5 separate regions of the Homo sapiens genome follow, and all the other regions are linked to region 1. Evidence: promoter capture Hi-C in 16 types of primary human blood cells and fetal thymus (Javierre and others, 2016). All regions are on one chromosome and are shown on one strand. Each heading gives the region's core, a stretch centred on a gene start or on the middle of the fragment in contact. The rest is flanking DNA. Distances are from core to core; before and after follow the strand shown.

Evidence for each region. Contacts are between HindIII fragments. The CHiCAGO score rates a contact against its expected background, and 5 or more counts as called.
Region 2: a contact is called between a fragment that was not itself captured here and the fragment with the promoter of OR1G1 in region 1, in 5 of 17 cell types (M2 macrophages, M1 macrophages, M0 macrophages and 2 more). The highest score is 8.9, in M2 macrophages.
Region 3: a contact is called between a fragment that was not itself captured here and the fragment with the promoter of OR1G1 in region 1, in 4 of 17 cell types (endothelial precursors, M1 macrophages, M2 macrophages and 1 more). The highest score is 7.7, in endothelial precursors.
Region 4: a contact is called between a fragment that was not itself captured here and the fragment with the promoter of OR1G1 in region 1, in 5 of 17 cell types (M1 macrophages, M2 macrophages, endothelial precursors and 2 more). The highest score is 8.0, in M1 macrophages.
Region 5: a contact is called between a fragment that was not itself captured here and the fragment with the promoter of OR1G1 in region 1, in 3 of 17 cell types (endothelial precursors, M2 macrophages and M1 macrophages). The highest score is 9.5, in endothelial precursors.

Annotation. Positions count from the first base shown.
Region 1 is chr17:3,126,213-3,128,879 of GRCh38, forward strand. It overlaps OR1G1 (olfactory receptor family 1 subfamily G member 1), which reads right to left and starts at 1,339. Exons shown (of 1, transcript NM_003555.1): 1 at 398-1,339. The coding sequence starts at 1,339. The coding sequence ends at 398. The HindIII fragment of the contact is 3,090 bases long and covers 1-2,374 here.
Region 2 is chr17:3,359,189-3,361,855 of GRCh38, forward strand. All of the region lies in intron 1 of OR3A2 (olfactory receptor family 3 subfamily A member 2), which reads right to left. Among named protein-coding and RNA genes, the nearest start is that of OR1R1, 25 kb to the right of the region's middle. The HindIII fragment of the contact is 7,072 bases long and covers 1-2,667 here.
Region 3 is chr17:3,341,858-3,344,524 of GRCh38, forward strand. The region is part of intron 1 of OR3A2 (olfactory receptor family 3 subfamily A member 2); the gene reads right to left. Among named protein-coding and RNA genes, the nearest start is that of OR1R1, 43 kb to the right of the region's middle. The HindIII fragment of the contact is 1,085 bases long and covers 794-1,878 here.
Region 4 is chr17:3,306,228-3,308,894 of GRCh38, forward strand. All of the region lies in intron 2 of OR3A2 (olfactory receptor family 3 subfamily A member 2), which reads right to left. Among named protein-coding and RNA genes, the nearest start is that of OR3A1, 9.2 kb to the left of the region's middle. The HindIII fragment of the contact is 1,979 bases long and covers 354-2,332 here.
Region 5 is chr17:3,266,744-3,269,410 of GRCh38, forward strand. No RefSeq gene overlaps it. Among named protein-coding and RNA genes, the nearest start is that of OR3A1, 30 kb to the right of the region's middle. The HindIII fragment of the contact is 1,011 bases long and covers 869-1,879 here.

The DNA of each region.
Region 1 (2,667 bases), core at 89-2,588:
TCCTTCCCTGAATTTTATTCTTGGCCCTATACAACAGCCCAGCCAGATATTCCCTTATTTCAGTCATGAGCTGTCCCATGTTGTTTAAAAAGCATTAACTAATAACATTATTAAATCATCAATATTATTAACTATAGTAAATATAATAAGGCATGACATTATATTATACATCTGGATGGCTGTGGTTTTAGAACATAATTGTAAGAACTTCACCTGTGACATTGGCCTGATGATGGGTTATGATGCAGTCCTGTAGCTTAGACATGAATATTTCAGGTTCAGATCGTAGGTACTGGAACAGAGGTCTCTAGATTCTCTCCATCTTTCATTCTTCACTGCTTACTGTGGTGAACGCAGGTGCATGGAGACCCCCATATTGGATGTCAAGTCACTACCACTAAGGGGAATGAATTTTCCGAACCCAGATTAACTTTCTCAGGGAAGACTTTATTTCTTGGTTCCTCAAACTGTAGATAAAGGGATTCAACATTGGAGTTACCACTGTGTACATCACTGATGCAACTGTGTCCTTCTGGGCCGAGTGGGTTGAGGGAGAACTGAAATCAACACAAAAAGAAGTCCCAAAGAAGAGAGAGACCACGGAGAGATGAGAGCTGCAGGTGGAAAAGGCTTTCCGCTTCCCCTGAGCTGATGGGATCTTCAGGATGGTCGAGAAAACGTTCGTGTAAGAGATAATCAGGCAAAGCACACAAATGAGTCCTGTGAGACCCCCAGTGATGAAGATCACCAGCTCATTGGTGAAGGGGTCTGTGCAGGACAGACTCAGGAGGGGATTGATGTCACAGAAGAAGTGTGGGATCTCATGGTTTGCGCAGAAGGACAGGCTGTTCATCAGAAGTGTGTGTAGAAGGGAGTGGAGGGCATTCATGATCCAGGATGCAGACACGAGGAAGATGCAGAGCCCAGGGCTCATGATCAGAATGTAATGAAGTGGGTGGCATATGGCCACGTAGCAGTCATAGGCCATGACCGCCAAGAGGAATGCCTCCAGCATCACAAATAACATGAAAAAATACAACTGTAGTAGACACCCTGAGTAGGAGATGGCCTGACTCTGGATCTGTATGTTTGCCAGCATCTTAGGGACTGTGGTGGACACAAAGCAGGCATCTGCAAGGGAGAGGTTGGCTAGAAAGAAGTACATGGGGGTATGGAGTTGAGTGTCAGTAATGATGACTAGAATGATGAGGAGGTTGCCTGCCACCGTGACCAAGTACATGAACAGGAAGGACCCAAAGAGGGGCTTCTGCTCCTCCAGCTGCTCAGAGAACCCCAGGAGGAAACATTCTGAGATGCTGGTCAGATTTTTCCCCTCCATTTGTCTGTAGGAAGAAAGTTGGGTTAATTGGGTGACGTTGGTAAGCCCTGGATTGTGAACTCTGAAAATTATGCAATATTCCAGTGTTGATCTTCTAGTGTGAGGTTGGATCATAGGAAATCTCCACTATTTGACTCTTTGGGACCTGCAAAAATGGCCATTTCATAGGGTTCGACTAAATATTTGCAAATTCCTGTGCTTGGTGCTATGAGAAACCACAGATTTGTTTGTAATGCAATGAGAGGCTTTTAAATTTATTCCATAAGCATTAAGCCAATATGTGTATTTTGGGGCTGGGCTGGAGGGGCTTGCTGGCTTTGCTCTGGTAGTGTTCATGTAGAAACTATGACATTTATACAACCCAAGATTTTACAGGTCAAATGAGCCCATTGTACCAATAATTAAAAAGACAGCTCCTGGAAAGGGGTTTTGGAATTGGGAAAAGCATGGCTAACATGGAAATCATTATCACTGTTATCTACACAGCGGGTCTGGCCAGAAACCTGAGCGTCATTATTGACCCACGTTTCTCCCTCCCTGCCTACATCCAACCACCACCAAAGCCTGGCAATTTTACCTTCTCAATATGGCTACAATTTACTGACGTCTCTCTGTTTACTGGTCACCATCAGTCCCAGCTGCAGCTCATGTCATTCAGGGCACTGTGATTTCTCACTTGGATTTGGGCAGTTGATCTCCATGCCCCCAGGTATGCCCACCTGCCACCTGCTGTTCTAAATACACAGAGAATAGGCTTGCTAAAAATCAAATTCGACTCTTGTCTTTCTGCTTGAAAAATCCTTCATACACTCCTCATTACTCCCAGGATAAACTCTAAACTGAACACGGCTGAATGTCCTGGATCTTACCGTCATTTATTACAGACATCCCCAGTTCCTCATGAAACTCCCTCCTCCACTCCACACTTTATGCACTAATCATAGTTTCAATTATTTTAAAGGCCCAGATACTCCCTCACCTTTAGGCTTTCTCAGGCTGAAATAGTTTTTCCCATCCCATTTATCAGACGAGCTAAGCTTCAGGTCTCACCTTAGATGTCACCTCTTCTGGGAAGTCTTTCCCAACTCATCCTCTCACCAGAAACTCAGGTTCGTGACCTTCCTAATGCAGTGCCTCCCCCATCACAGCACGTGTCACCTTGGATTCTGAGTGTCTGTTTATATGAGTGTCCCTCATTCTGCTGTGAGCATCACTGGGAGTAGGCAGAGATGGTGCCTAATTGGCTCAGCTTTGAAATCTAGCATTAGCCTTGAGGCTGGTACAACACAGATGCTCAGTATGAATCTATCATGTAAATACATAAACCC
Region 2 (2,667 bases), core at 83-2,582, 230 kb after region 1:
TCATGAAGGCAGAATACTACTGGATCTTGCTTTATCCAGCTTGCCACTCTGTGCCTTTGAAGTGGGGCATTTAGCCCATTCACCTTCAAGGTCAGTATTGATATGTATGGATTTGATCCTGTCATTGTGCTGTTAGCTGGTTATTATCTTGGCTTCTTTGTGTGGTTGTTTTACAGTGACACTGGTCTGTGTGTTTAAGTATGTTTTTGTATTAGCTGGCAGTAGTCTTTCCTTTCTATATTTAGTGCTCATTTCAAGATCTCTTGTAAGGCAGATCTGGTGGTGATGAATTCCCTCAATATTTGCTTATCTGAAAAGGAACATATTTCTCCCTCACTTAGGAAACTTAGTTTGGCTGGATATGAAATTCTTGGTTGAAGATTATTTTTCTCTAAGAATGTTGATTATAGGTCCCCAATCTCTTCTGGCTTGTAGGGTTTTAGCTGAGAGGTCTGCTGTTAGCCTAATGGGGTTCCCTTTGTAGGTAACCTTCCCTTTCTCTCTAGTTTGCTGAGAATGATGGTTTCCAGCTTCATCCATGTCCCTACAAAGGACATGAACTCATCCTTTTTTATGGCTGCATAGTATTCCATGGTGTGTATGTGCCACATTTTCTTAATCCAGTCTATCATTGTTGGACATTTGGGTTGGTTCAAAGTCTTTGCTATTGTGAGTAGTGCCGCAATAAACATATGTGTGCATGTGTCTTTATAGCAGCATGATTTATATTCCTTCAGGTATATACCCAGTAATGGGATGGCTGGATCAAATGGTATTTCTAGTTTTAGATCCCTGAGGAATTGCCACACTGTCTTCCACAATGGTTGAACTAGTTTACAGTCCCACCAACAGTGTAAAAGTGTTCCTATTTCTCCACATCCTCTCCAGCACCTGTTGTTTCCTGACTTTTTAATGATTGCCATTCTAACTGGTGTGACATGATATCTCATTGTGGTTTTAATTTGCATTTCTCTGATGGCCAGTGATGATGAACATTTTTTCATGTGTCTGTTGGCTGCATAAATGTCTTCTTTTGCGAAGTGTCTGTTCATATCCTTCGCCCACTTTTTGATGGGGTTGTTTTTTTCTTGTAAATTTGTTTGAGTTCTTTGTGGATTCTGGATATTAGCCCATTGTCAGATGAGTAGATTGCAAAAATTTTCTCCTATTCTGTAGGTTGCCTGTTCACCCTGATGGTAGTTTCTTTGGCTGTGCAGAAGCTCTTTAGTTTAATTAGATCCCAGTTGTCAATTTTGGCTTTTGTTGCCATTGCTTTTGGTGTTTTAGACATGAAGTCCATGCCCATGCCTATGTCCTGAATGGTATTGCATAGGTTTTCTTCTAGGGTTTTTATGGTTTTAGGTCTAACATTTAAATCTTTAATCCATCTTGAATTAATTTTCGTATAAGGTGTAAAGAAGGGATCCAGTTTCAGCTTTCTACATATGGCTAGCCAGTTTTCCCAGCACCATTTGTTAAATAGGGAATCCTTTCCCCATTGCTTGTTTTTCTCAGGTTTGTCAAAGATCAGATAGTTGTAGATGTGTGGTATTGTTTCTGAGGGCTCTGTTCTGTTCCATTGGTCTATATCTCTGTTTTGGTACTAGTACCATGCTGTTTTGGTTACTGTAACCTTGTAGTATAGTTTGAAGTCAGATAGCGTGATGCCTCCAGCTTTGTTCTTTTGGGTTAGGATTAACTTGGCGATCTGGGCTCCTTTTTGGCTCCATATGAACTTTAAAGTAGTTTTTCCCAATTCTGTGAAGAAAGTCATTGGTAGCTTGATGGGGATGGCATTGAATCTATAAATTACCTTGGGCAGTATGGCCATTTTCACGATATTGATTCTTCCTACCCATGAGCATGGAATGTTCTTCCATTTGTTTGTGTCCTCTTTTATTTCGTTAAGCAGTGGTTTGTAGTTCTCCTTGAAGAGGTCCTTCACATCCTTTGTAAGTTGGATTCCTAGGTATTTTATTCTCTTTGAAGCAATTGTGAATGGGAGTTCACTCATGATTTGGCTGTTTGTCTGTTGTTGGTGTATAAGAATGCTTGTGATTTTTGTACATTGATTTTGTATCCTGAGACTTTGCTGAAGTTGCTTATCAGCTTAAGGAGATTTTGGGCTGACATGATGGGGTTTTCTAGATATACAATCATGTCATCTGCAAACAGGGACAATTTGACTTCCTCTTTTCCTAACTGAATGTGCTTTATTTCTTTCTCTTACCTGATTGCCCTGGCCAGAACTTCCAACACTATGTTGAATAGGAGTGGTGAGAGAGGGCATCCCTGTCTTGTGCCAGTTTTCAAAGAGAATGCTTCCAGATTTTTGCCCATTCAGTATGATATTGGCTGTGGGTTTGTCATAGATAGCTCTTATTATTTTGAGATACGTCCCATCAATACCTAATTTATTGAGAGTTTTTAGCATGAAAGGTTGTTGAATTTTGTCAAAGACCTTTTCTGCATCTATTGAGATAATCATGTGGTTTTTGTTTTTTGTTCTGTTTATATGCTGGATTACATTTATTGATTTGTGTATGTTGAACCAGCCTTGCATCCCAGGGATGAAGTCCAGTTGATCGAGGTGGATACGCTTTTTGATGTGCTGCTGGATTCGGTTTGCCAGTATTTTATTGAGGATTTTTGCATTGATGTTCATCA
Region 3 (2,667 bases), core at 86-2,585, 220 kb after region 1:
TTTTCCAGCTTCGTTCCATTTTCCACATCACTTTCAGGTACACCAATCAAATGTAGATTTTGTCTTTTCACATAGTCCCATATTTCTTGAAGGCTTTGTTCGTTTCTTTTTACTCTTTTTTCTCTAAACTTCTCTTCTTGCTTTATTTCATTAATTTGATCTTCAATCACTAATACTCTTTCTTCCACTTGATCAAATCGGCTACTGAAGCTTGTGCATGCGTCACGTAGTTCTTGTGTCACGGTTTTCAGCTCCATCAGGTCATTTAAAGTCTTCTCTACACTGTTTATTCTAGTTAGCCATTTGTCTAATCTTTTTTCAAGGTTTTTAGCTTCCTTGCAATGGGTTCAAACACCCTCCTTTAGCTCAGAGAAGTTTGTTATTACCGACTTTCTGAAGCCTACTTCTGTCAACTCGTCAAAGTCATTCTCTGTCCAGCTTTGTTCTGTTGCTGGCGAGGAGCTGCAATCCTTTGGAGGAGAAGAGGAGCTCTGGTTTTTAGAATTTTCAGCTTTTCTCCTCTGGTTTCTCCCCATCTTTGTGGTTTTATCTACCTCTGGTCTTTGATGATGGTGACCTACAGATGGGGTTTTGGTGTGGATGTCCTTTTTGTTGATGTTGATGCTATTCCTTTCTGTTGTTAGTTTTCCTTCTGTCAGGTCCCTCAGCTGCAGGTCTGTTAGAGTTTGCCGGAAGTCCACTCCAGACCGTTTGCCTGGGTGTCACCAGTGGAGGCTGCAGAAGGGCAAATATTGCAGAACAGCAAATATTGCTGCCCGATCCTTCCTCTGGAAGCTTCGTCTCAGAGGGCCACCTGGCTGTATGAGGTGTCAGTCAGCCCTACTGGGAGGTGTCTCCAAGTTAGGCTACCTGGGGGTCAGGGACCCACTTGACGAGGCAGTCTGTCCATTCTCAGAGCTCAAACACCATGATGGGAGAACCACTGCTCTCTTCAGAGCTGTCAGACAGGGACGTTTAAGTCTGCAGAAGTTTCTGCTGCCTTTTGTTCAGCTATGCCCTGCCCCCAGAGGTGGAGTGCACAGAGGCAGGCGGGCCTCGTTGGCTTCCTGGCCGCTGTGTTTACCTACTCTAGCCTCAGCAATGGTGGACGCCCCTCCTCCAGCCAGGCTTGCCGCCTTGCAGTTCGATCTTGGACTGCTGCGCTAGCAGTGAGCAAGGCTCCGTGGGCATGGGACTCACTGAGCCAGGCACGGGATATAATCTCCTGGTGTGCCATTTGCTAAGACCTCTGGAAAAGTGCAGTATCTAGGTTGCAGTGTCCCGATTTTCCCGGTACAGTCTGTCATGGCTTCCCTTGTCTAGGAAAGGGAAATCCCCTGACCCCTTGCACTTCCCAGGTGAGGCGATGCCCTGCCCTGCTTCGGCTCACCCTCTGTGGGCTGCTCCCACTGTCCAACCAGTTCCAATGAGATGAACCAGGTACCTCAGTTGGAAAAGCAGAAATCACCCATCTTCTGTGTCGATCATGCTGGAAGCTGTAGACCAGAGCTGTTCCTATTCAGCCATCTTGAAATGAACCTACTTATATGAAATTCTAATGCAAACACAATAAGAAATTGACTCACTGGCCAACATAAACTCAGTATGCCCCATCCAATATCTCATTTTGGAGAATGCTGAGATTTTAATGTGCTGCGTCTTGCTTTCACTTACTGCCATGCATCCATTTTAGAAAACAGAAAGAAACTAGAAACCATGACTTCTTTCCACCTTTAAAAAGCATTTCATGAAGAAAACTAAGCCACAAATTCAGTAATTCAGTAGTTCTGGGTGGGAAGTGGGGAAAAGAACAAGTTTGGAGGGAGTACACCCAGGAGTTGTCAGCACTGTATTGAACAGGAGTGTTCATTCAATGAAAGCTTGCTTAGTGTCATATCAACCTACTCCCATTTTTAACAGTAGTCTAGTTTTCATCCAGCCTCCACCCCTCCCTGACGTAGCCCACATGCTTTGGCAGAAGATAACTCCATCTCCCCCACCCCCTTTGCCTCATTATTTGTTCAAGTAACCTAGATTCATGCCAACCAACACTTGAAATGCTGTCCCATCACCATGGACAACCTATGTCATCAAAGAAGCAGAAGGAGGGGTCTGTGATTCTACTTTGTCTAGGAAGTTTTTCTCATTCTAATCCATGGCTTGCAATACATCTTAGTGTCATTCACCTTGTTTTGATTTTTCCACTCAGTGATATACAGGAGTGCTGTAGTGCCACATCAGTGCATATGCAGTGGGATATTCGGCTCTGTGGCATTGCCCCTTCTTTAGGTGGCATGTTACAAAAATGAGCCAAAGATGATGTCTGTGTATTGACTCTTAGGTGGTTTATTTCTTCACTGCTGGCTGAGACTTGTGAGCTAAAAAGCCTGCTTCCACCAAATTCAAATTTTTACACATCTAATTATTTTTAAATAAAAATACCCTGAAGAAGAAGATTTTCAGCAATTTAGACCTTCCTGCTTTGCGTGTCCTGTAAATATTCACCCTGCATCTGCCAACCACAAACAAGATAGCCTTGTGGTTGTAAGACTCCAGGCCACTACTGTACCTTGGAGACTCTGACCCAGAGATTCCCCACCATACAGCTAGACAATATCATCTAGACACAAAAGTCCCTCTCCGATTCCCTTCTCTTCTGGGAGTTCT
Region 4 (2,667 bases), core at 93-2,592, 180 kb after region 1:
CGCAGCCTCAAACTCCTGGCCTCAAGCAATCCTCCTACCTTAGCCTCCCAAGTAGCTGGGACTACATGTTTGTGCCACCACAGTCAGCTAATTTTTTTTGTAGAGACAGGGTTTCATTATGTTGCCCCTGATCTAGAACGCCTGGCCTCAAGCAATCCCCCCACTCCAGCCTCCCAAACTGTTGGGATTAGAGGCACAAGCCACCGCATCCAGCCACCCCCATTTTGATGAGGTTACTTCCTCATCCAGGAGGCACCAGATGTAATGCAGTTACCTAGATGCTCCCACTCCCCCTTCCAATTCCTACAAATATATAGAGTGTTTGTGGGGGGTGGGGTCCCTTTCTACTGAAAAGCTTGCCATAGTGTGTGTAGTCTAGTGACGCTCAACCTTAGCCCCTCTCCATGTGGAATAGGGAGAGTGCAGGGGATCACTGTGCTCTACTACTCTTCAAAAAAAAAAAAAAAACCGTAACCCCTTTTATTTTCTCCACTTAAAATCAAATAGAAAACAAAAACCACTAATATCTTCAAAAGACATTGTTAGTGTAAGAGAAAGACTAAGAACCACTTAAAATCAAATAGAAAACAAAAACCACTAATAACTTCAAAAGACATTGTTAGTGTAAGAGAAAGACTAAGAACAAAAATTGGGTTTATAGAGTCAAACATAAGTGAGTGTCACTCTTATACTTCCAAGTTTTTCCACAACAAGGCATGTGGTTCAACTGGATTTACACACGCACGCGTGCTTGTGTGTGTGCGCATTTTGTACAAAAGGTTTTGTACATCTTGGGTTCCTGTGGGATGTTCAGGTAGAAATATCCAACACACAGGCATTAGGGTCAACAACTTAGTGTCTGGGAGGGAGATAAAAACTGAGGATCGCCTGCATGTACTGCCTTTGGATTGCTATGGGAAGACAGAGGAAGGCCTCCTAGCCTGGCCCCAGGGACTCATAGGCAGTTTCTGGAAAGGAGGAGACCTGCAATGAGTCTTCAAGGAGGAAGTTCCCTTCCTTAACATTGTGTCAGAAAAGGAGACGACACAGCCTCCGGTATGTCAGGAGAAAGCAGAAATAATGGGTTCTATTTGAGCTCTGCAACTTAGCCTCTTACAAGGACAGCTGTCAACAGAAATCCCAATCCATCCTAATTCTCTGACAACTCCTCCTTGGCCCATGACAGGCTTAAGCCACTATGAGTTTCCTCAAGTGATCCTGCAAAGAGCTTCTTCCAAACCTGTTAATGAGAGTCAGTGAGAATGCTTAATTAATGAACAAGGAATTAAAATTGCAGTTGATGTCTGAAGCCACCATTAGATGTTAGTGAAAGTAGATGGTCCTGTTCTAAAAGTCCTCTAACCCTTTATCTTCCTTTGTGGTGTTGGAGGCATGAGACTAGAAAACATTTTGAGCCAGGATGCTACAGGTTCTAGATTACACTGTGGGAGCCCAGAAAAAGGCAAAGCGCTTGACTGAGACTAGAAGAGAAGCCGGGCTTGAGGATGGCTCACGTGAGCTGTGATGGGAGGTGACCTTGTGAGATGATGGCAAGAACACTGATCCAGGGATGAAACAGGAGGAAATCCTGACCTAGGCTCTGGCCTCCTCCCAGCCCCATGCTGCAGGCCAGGTGAGAAAGTCACAAGTCACTGCTCCTCTCCTCTCCTGTCCCCACCCAAGATGATGGGCTGGATTAAATCAGAAACCCAAAATCTCAACACCGTCCCCAACACAAGGTGACTTTCAGGATTTTAAGTCTTTGAGATGTTCATTTTAACTCTATAAAATGTTGATTACAAGAGTGCCGTTTCACCAGTGCTCAAAAATATTTTTGTTAAATAAATGAATGAATTTTGCCATATTGAAGAAGGCTGTACTTGGAAACATTTTGACAAGTCCATAACATTTTAAAAATATTTGAGGTCATTATGTCTTTGGCAAAGGCAGGTGTCTTTACCTGGTTCTGGCTCCCCCTGGAAGGTGCTAATTTCTGAGGCCTCCAGGGGAACAATGAGGAGGAGAAAAATCCCAGTGTGAAAATGATGTCAGCGGAGTTGCTTGTCCCTTTGTCTGTCTGTCCTTTATAAGCCATCCCCTCTGCAGAGGCTGCTGGGCCGGCGGGACTGTCCCTCCTCCTCTTTGCCCATCTCTTTGGCCGGGTGAGTCTCATCTCAAGACTCCTCACTGTACTCTCACAGCTTGGTCTCCATACAAATGAAGTTCACCCTCTGGGCTCTGAAACAGCTTCTCACTCCACCCAAAAAGATCCAGTGGGATTTGGGTGCTTCAATGTGCAGGGTTAGAGAGAGGGAAGAATCAGTAATGACTAAGCTTTCAAGCGCTACTCACGGGGAGGATGGCAATGCTGCTACCAAAATACTTAGTCCAAAGCAGATTGAGATTGAAGAAGGACGGTTCTGATTTGGAGAGACTGAGTTTGAGGTAATGGTAAGAGCATGTCCATGCAGAAAAGGCCATACTATTAGATGGTAATTGACCCTCTGGAGACCTGAGGACGGCATTCTCCACATTTAATCATTGGGAAATATCTTCCTCTGCTCATGCCTTTTGCCCCCTAGTGGTCTCCAACTCCACCCCTTCCCTGGATGAGTTAGCCTCCATGTGAGAGACTTAAATATCTATCCCTCAGCCAGAGGTTGAGGT
Region 5 (2,667 bases), core at 124-2,623, 140 kb after region 1:
AGGTTGTAAGTTGTTTTTCAGTGGCCATGGCTCCTTAGGTCATGTGACCTGAGTATGCTCGGATGAACCAAGCATGAAACCACAGGAGAAACTAAGTGCTGGGGCTGAAGCTTTTTCTTTTTTTTTTTTTTTGAGACAGAGTCTGGCTCTGTCACCCAGGCTGGAGTGCAGTGGCACGATCTCAGCTCACTGCAACCTCCACCTCCCGGGTTCAAGCAATTCTCCTGCCTCAGCCTCCCAAGTAGCTGGGACTACAGGCGCCCACCACAACGCCTGGCTAATTTTTTTGTATTTTAGTGGAGACGGGGTTTCTCCATGTTGGCCAGGACAGTCTAGATCTCCTGACCTCATGATCTGCCCGCCTTGGCCTCCCAAAGTGCTATGATTACAGGAGTGAGCCACTGGGCCCGGCCATAATTTTTGTACTTTTAGTAGAGACAGGGTTTCACCATGTTGACTAGGCTGGTCTCGAACTCCTGACCTCAGGTGATCCACCTGCCTCGGCCTCCCAAAGTGTGGTGAGAGATGAAGTCCCTGGACTTCCTGGGTAGAGTGGGACTTGGAGAACTTTTCTTTCTAGCAAGAGGATTGTAAAATGCACCAATCAGCACTCTGTAGCTAGGATTGTAATATGTACCAATCAGTGCTCTGTAGCTAGCAAGGGGATGGTAAAATGCACCAATCAGCACTCTGTAAAATGCACCAATCAGCAGGATCCTAAAAGTAGCCAATAACAGGGAGGATTGAAAAAAAAGGGCATTCTGATAGGACAGAAACGGAACATGGGCGGGGACAAATAACAGAATAAAAGCTGGCCACCCCTCAGCCAGCAGCGGCAACCCACTCTGGTCTCCTTGCATGCTATGGAAGCTTTGTTCTTTTGCTCTTCACAACATTTCTTGCTGCTACTCACTCTTTGGGTCCATGCCATCTTTAAGAGCTGTAACACACCGTGAAGGTCCACAGCTCCATTCTCGAAGTTAGCAAGACCATGAACCCACTGGAAGGAACCAACTCCGGATACACCGGGATTATAGATGTGAGCATTTAATAATTTAATACCTGCCTCTGGTTTTGCTTCCCAGATTCCAGATTCTCAGCTTCAGGAGAAGCACCTCCACTCTTACTGCTTTCGCTAACTTCATTTCCCTAACACTATATTGCCATTGTTTTAATACATTCTTCTTTATCCTATGGGAATAGTTGTCTCTCATTATTATTTTCATTTGAATAGCTCTGACGTAATAAGGTTTATCTTTTTCCTGGTATTTGTTAACAATTTGCATTTTTTGTTAATCACTCTTGTGCATTTTATTTTTGGTTGTGTATTGTTCAATTTCCAGTACTATGGAATCTCTATGTATGTCTTTCCTTCAGAAGTAACCATGACCCTGAATTTTGTGTTTGTCATTTTCTTCCTTCACTCCAACCCGTGGGGAGTACAATTCAGCATGATATTTGGGTAGGGACACAGAGCCAAAACTTATCAGTGTCCATTCACCTACAGATGGACATTTGGGTTGTGGGGCAGGCAGCCTCTAAAATGTCTCCCAGTGATTGCTGCCTCATGGTATTCATAGCTGTATATAGTCCCCTCTCTTGGGTGTGGGTGAAATCTAGGGACTTGCTTCTAACAAAGAGAATACAGTAAAACTAATGACTTCTGAGATTAAGTTATAAAAGACTATGATTTCCATCTCCTCTCTTTCTGGCTCTCTTCTCGATTGCTCTGTGGAAGGAAGCAGACGTGTTTTGAGAGGCCTTAGTAGCAAGGAACTGAAGGCGGCCTCCAGCCAACAGACAGTGAGGCACTGAGGCCTCCAGTCCAACAACCAGCAAAATGTGGAAACTTACCAGGGATCACGTGAATGAGCATGGAAGCTTATCCCTCCCTGGTCAAGCCTTGAGACAGCTGCACCACTGGCTGATACCGCTAAGGCAGCCTCATGAGAGAACCCGGACCCAGTATTTCTGATGCAAATTTGGCATCCTAATTGAGATGTGCTATAAGTTTAAAAAACACGTACCAGGCCAGGCACGGTGGCTCACTCCTGTAATCCCAGCATTTTGGGAGGGTGAGGCGGGTGGATCATGAGGTAAAGAGATCGAGATCATCCTGGCCAACATAGTGAAACCCTGTACCTACTAAAAATACAAAAATTAGCCGGGCATGCTGGCATGCACCTGTAGTCCCAGCTACTTGGGAGGCTGAGGCAGGAGAATTGCTTGAACCTGGGAGGCGGAGGTTGTGGTGAACCGAGATCACGCCACTGCACTCCAGCCTGGCAACAGAGCAAGACTCTGTCTAAAAAAACAAAACAAAACAAACAAACAAACAAAAAAAACACATACCAGATTTCAAAGACTATGAAATATAAAAATGTAAAATCTGTCACTTATAATTTTTTATTTTTAAAATATTTTTCTTTTTTCACTACAACCATGACAGATGAAAAATTTTAAATATTAACATGTTGAAGTGGTAATATTTTAGATTATTGAATTAAATAAAATACATCATTAATTTCACCTGTTTCTTTTTACTTTTATTAAAGTGGCTCTTGAAAAATTTAAATTATGTATGTGGTTCATATGAAATTTCTATTGGATAGCACTGCTCTGGATGATAGCTTCTTCTTCCAGAAATGACTTATTTTTGAGTCTGGC